2 separate regions of the Homo sapiens genome follow, and region 1 is linked to region 2. The links are contacts of gene promoters, found by promoter capture Hi-C in blood cells and fetal thymus (Javierre and others, 2016). All regions are on one chromosome and are shown on one strand. The core of a region is centred on a gene start or on the middle of the fragment in contact, and the rest is flanking DNA. Distances in the headings are between cores, read along the strand shown. Region 1 overlaps LOC107985486 (a long non-coding RNA gene). Region 2 holds the start of HEMK2 (HemK methyltransferase 2, ETF1 glutamine and histone H4 lysine).

Region 1 (2,826 bases), core at 56-2,555, 570 kb after region 2:
ACGTATATTTTATATATACATATGTGTGTGTGTGTGTATGTATAGTTCTACAGTCCTTGACGTATTTTGAAAATTCCAAAATTGGCTGGGTGCGGTGGCTCACATCTGTAATCCCAGCACTTTGGGAGGTTGAGGCATGCTGATCATCTGAGGCCGGGAGTTTGAGACTAGGCTGACCAACATGGAGAAACCCTGTGTCTACTAAAAATACAAAATTGCCTGGGTGTGGTGGCGCATGCCTGTAATCCCAGCTACTTGGGAGGCTGAGGCAGGACAATCATTTGAACTCAGGAGGCGGAGATTGTGATGAACCAAGATCATACCATTGCACTCCAGCCTGGGCAACAAGAGCGAAACTCCGTCTCAGAAAAAAAAAAAAGAAAATTCCAAAATGAAGGGTTATTTGGGAAAAATCTATAAGCTTACCTTTGTTCAATAGACACATTCATGAACAGCTGTGTGTAAAGTTATGTCTAGATAGAACAATATTTAAAATGCATAATTGTGTACACTATTTTAAATAACCCTGGATAAGATATTCCAAAATTTAAGGAAAATTGTAGTAATTTGATTTTTTAAATATACACATTTTAGTTTTGTGTGTGTGCATGTTTAGAGTGAAGCACACTCATATAGGAAGTTATTGGCTGAGCATGGTGGCTCATGCCTGTAATCCCAGCACTTTGGGAGGCTGAGGCTGGTGGATCATGAGGTCAGGAGTTCGAGACCAGCCTGGTCAACCTGGTGAAACCTCCCTCTCTACTAAAAATACAAAAATTAGCTGGGTATGGTGGCACACGCCTGTAATCCAAACTTACTCGGGACACTGAGTCAGGAGAATCACTTGAACTTGGGAGGTGAAGGTTGCAGTGAGCCAAGATCATGCCACTGCACTCTAGCCTGGGCGACAGAGTGAGACTCCATCTCGAAAAAAAAAAAAGAAGCTGTCAATATCAAGAGGCTTTGTAAAACCTCCTTTGAAGGCATTTAAATGAGAATTTTTTTTTTTTTTTTTGAGACAGGGTCTCATTCTGTCGCCCAGGCTGGAGTGCAGTGGTGCAATCTCGGCTCACTGGAGCCTATACCTCCCGGGTTCAAGTGATTCTCTTGCCTCAGCCTCCCGAGTAGCTGGGGCTACAGGTATGCACCACCACGCCTGGCTAAGTTTTGTATTTTCAGTAGAGACGGGGTTTCACCATGTTGGCCAGGCTGGTCTTGAACTCCTGACCTCAAGTGATCCGCCCTCCTCAGCCTCCCAAAGTACTGGGATGACAGGCGTGAGCCACCGCACCTGTCCTGTTTTTCATTTTTATTTTTTTACCTAAGCTAGGACGTTTTGTTTTTGTTTATTTTGATCTGTACTTGCTGTCCCTGGGTATAATGTGTAGAGGGTTCTGTGTTAGGGCCTGAGTCTTATTTGTATACTCATCGCTCCAATTTTCTGATTCAGTGGTTCTTATCCTACCCTGTACACAAATATTATCTAGGATGTTTGTTAAAATATAGCTGGGACCCAATTAGAAATTCTGACTCAAAAGTATTGGGGTAGGACTTAGGAGTCTGCATTTTAACAAGATCTCTAGTTCCTTTTAAGGAAGATAGTCCATTGACTACAATTTTAGAAACACTGCTTTAGATCATTTAATAGTTGAGATTTGGTGTATCAAGGGGCATTTCCCCAGCTTGGTTATCAGAGATGGAAGTATTCCTCATGTCTCACAATAGCCCTAAAGGATAGAACACCTGATATAAAATGGTGCTCTTAGTCACATAGAAAAGAATGTGGAATTTAAGATAGTAATGTTAGGGGTAGACATTTGAATAAATAATTTTTGCCTAATTAGCTTTCAATGGTTAGCTTATGACAGAAAATGTGCAAAGGCAGATATTAGAATTTTACAATCCTTCTGATTGAAAATAGTAATTTTTTATTTTTTTTTCTGTTCTATTTAGACCTTTAATGGCCTGGGTGATATCCACCTACCTCGGTGAGGACAGTTTTTTTTACTCAGTTTACTGAGTCAAATGCTAATCTCTTCCAGAAAGACCCTCACAAATACACCCAGAAATAGTGTTTTACTAACTATCTGGGCATCCCTAAGCCCAGTCAAGTTGACATATAAAATTAACCATCACACAGGAGGCCATTTAAAAGTTTTTTTGTGAGGCTCAATTACGATAATCCATGTACAAGCTTTCTGAAATGCGTAAGTTATGATACATTTGAAAAGTGTAACATCACTGATGCTCCTTGCCATAAACTTAGGCAATATGAAACAATCTTGCTCTTAGAACCACTTCAAATGATTGGTAAATTGGGGTCACTTATGGTAATTTTATTTATAATCTTTAATCTTGTATCTACATCTCTTTTCTCCTCTTCCTTCTCTTACATTCAGTAAATCTAAGGCTTCTTTGAGTTTCTGTGCCCTCTCTTACCTATTGGCAATGTCTGTAAAGACACAGCTCACCTCTTTCTTCTCTTCTGGGAAATATTATTAGCCATTATGCTTTCAGCCCACATTTGTTCACTTATTATTTCCCTGTGTAGACCCTACAAAATGGGAACCAGATCTTTTTCTATAGTTTTAGATAAAGGTAGTCTGGCAGTTTTCTAGAGAAATTCATTATTAGAAATTTATTCTAATGGGAACCCATTTTTGGCTTACTCTGTTGGTTGCTTTGACCTCTGTTTTTCCTTGCAGAGCTCGACTTATTAATATCATTTAGGAGCACTGGGAAACATCATTCTGCATATTTATCAGGCAATTCATACACACATCCCTACAGTTCAGTGTATAGAGCTTCTCTGTTTTGGACTTAAAC
Region 2 (2,700 bases), core at 156-2,655:
AATTTTTAGCACTGAACTCCCAAAACAACTACCCAGTGACAAGCTCCAGAGGTTTTAAACTTTTGGAACCAGTCTACACATCTGACAAGTCTTTATTAGGTGGTAGTAAGGTCTGAGAATCTCACCAGGTGGCTTCTCTTTGAAAATAACTATCATGGTCTCATAAATAATTAGAATTCCAAACTAGAAATAACCCAAGACTTTATAACAAAATCAGCTCCTTTTACAGCATACTTTGCAGTGCAATTTGTGCTTGTAAATCTTTCTGGGCTATCTTGAGAAGAAAAGACAAGTTATAAAACAGTACTGTTCCACTGTATATTCCAGTAGATCCAAAAGTTCCATCATCTACAATGAAAGACTAGTTTAATAAGAGCTGGGACATTTTATACTGGAGAAATATGACCAAGTTTAAGAGGGATAAATAAATACAATATAGATCTTTGAAACCTGAAAGCTGTTTGTTCCATCCTGAGAAAACCCAGTTCATCTTATCTTCAAACAAATCTAACAACCCAAATTCCTTACATTTAAAAATCACAATGTCAGTATTCATTCCTTCTGCTATTAATTTAAAATTGATGGCGATCACTTCAATAAATCCATTTAAATAAAGTGCTAGGGTAGACTATTGTCTGCTAGCTGCATGTAACTTTTTTTTGGTAACAATTAAATGAAAAATTCAGTTCCTCAATAGCACTAGCCACATTTCAAGCGCTCTGTAGCCACATGTGAGGACTGGCTGGTGCTAGAGTATGCTATTCAGTGGGTTTAAAAATATTTCCCCACTCCAGTAACACAACTTTCTTTCATGTTTGTTAAGGGTGCTTTCTATGTGCTGAGTAAATCAAATAATACCATGCAATTTTAATATGTAATACTTTAAAAATATTAATAAGCAATGTTTCCGGAATATTTTGTTTCCAAACGTGTTATACTATCGCTTCTCTCAGGGACATGTGTTCTTCAGATTAACAGGCGACAGGAAAAGATACGCCTTTGCATGGTAAGCAGTCAGGGAGCTCATGAGACAGAGCAGCCCCCTGGCAAAGGAGATGCGTCCCCGGCACACTCATTACTTGTAGCTACAGGAAAATTCTCAATTACGGCGTCCTGGCTGTCAATCATCTGCAAGTGGACCCCGCCTGCTCCGGCTCAGGGCGGTGATAGTCACCGTTCCGGCCCTCCTCCACCGCACTTCTTCAGAAAGCCGCAACCCTTTCCCGTCAGAGCCCCTCCCCTCCTCGCACCCTGCCAGTTCGGCAGCCGCTGCCTCCAGCGCGTCCAAAAGCAGAAACGTGTCCTCCGCGGGCTCGTACACGTCGCTGAAGGCGCCGCGGCCCACGTGCCCGTGGAACGGCGTAGCGAAGTTCTCCCCTGCCATAGTCCTTCGCTGCGTTCCATGCGCGTGCGCAGGGCGTGCGCATGCGCATGCGCATGCCCTCACCCTCATGCGCAGGCCTAGGAGTGGGGCTGGCGTCCCGGGCGACCAGTGTGTTGTTGTTGGGTCTTAATTCTAAATTTGTCAGTGGCTCTCCTTGAAATTGCTAAGTAGACAGTTGTATAATCCGTGACTATTGACATTTGCTTTCTTCTTTGGAACATTTAAATTTTATTCTGTGAACTAGAACCTGATAGTGGGCATTCTGAGTTGTTTTTGACTAAGGTGAATGTTCTTTCTTCATTCTAATGATATTTGGAAATTCTGTTTTATTCCTAGTTTGCAAGGATTTGAAAAAATACATAATAAATTTTACTGTTTTTTTGTCAGCTGAACTTTAAGCTTTACGCTATAAAGATGAAGACTTTCCTCGTTTTTTTACTGTACTTTATAAATTGCCTTCCTGATGAATCATGAATGCACTCTTTTTATAAACCTTAAGCAAGATGATGCGGTTTAATACACTGCTGAATTGGGGAGGCTAATAATCTGGCTCCGTTTTTTTTTACCAAGATTACGCTACCCTCGTTATGTGAGTTAGGACACTGTTTCTGGAACATTAGGTAGAAAGCCTTAAAACTGGCTGGGCTTGGTGCCTTTTTGAGTGAATGGATCTTTGATGTTTTGGAACATCTGTAAGTTATTAGACTATTCAAGTATTTGCATTCTTTTTGAGTCAATTTCTGAAATTTGTTTCGCAATGAAACATTTTTACAGCTCGTTTTTTAAATTTGAGAAATAAAAATACAGAAAAGTATTTGAGGTACAAATTTTATTTTATTTTATTTCTACTTATGTATTTTTTTTTTTTGGAGACAGAGTCTCGCTGTATCCCCCAGGCTGGAGTGCAGTGGCGCGAGCTAGGCTCACTGCAACCTCTGCCTCCCAGGTTCAAGCGGTTCTCCTGCCTCAGCCTCCGGAGTAGCTGGGATTACAGGCGCCTGCAGCCACGGCTGCCTAATTTTTGTATTTTTAGTAGAGACGGATTTTCCCCATGTTGGCCAGGCTGGTCTCAAACTGCTGACTTCAGGTGATCCACCCGCCTTGGGCTCTCAAAGTGCTGAGATTACAGGTGTGAGCCTTTAACGCACCCGGCTGGGTTACAAATTTCAAAACCCCAAGTTTTAAACCCAGAAATGACAGTATTTTCTCATGTTTCCTTAAAATATTTTTTAAATACAAGAACTAAAATATTACAAATAAGATGGATGTTCTTTCTCTATTTGCCTTCAGTTTAATTGTGTAACATTCTCTCCAAG

What was found. The method cuts DNA at HindIII sites, captures the fragments that hold promoters and counts their contacts. A CHiCAGO score of 5 or more calls a contact.
Region 1: a fragment that was not itself captured here is called in contact with the fragment with the promoter of HEMK2 in region 2 in 1 of 17 cell types (naive CD8 T cells); the score reaches 5.8 in naive CD8 T cells.

What each region holds. Positions count from the first base shown.
Region 1 is chr21:29,450,827-29,453,652 of GRCh38, forward strand. The region is part of intron 1 of LOC107985486 (a long non-coding RNA gene); the gene reads left to right. Among named protein-coding and RNA genes, the nearest start is that of BACH1-IT3, 44 kb to the right of the region's middle. The HindIII fragment of the contact is 1,773 bases long and covers 420-2,192 here.
Region 2 is chr21:28,883,962-28,886,661 of GRCh38, forward strand. HEMK2 (HemK methyltransferase 2, ETF1 glutamine and histone H4 lysine) reads right to left here and starts at 1,406. Exons shown (of 6, transcript NM_013240.6): 1 at 1,251-1,406. The coding sequence starts at 1,384. RefSeq lists enhancers at 705-1,264, 1,260-1,319, 1,265-1,823. The HindIII fragment of the contact is 10,284 bases long and covers 1-1,781 here.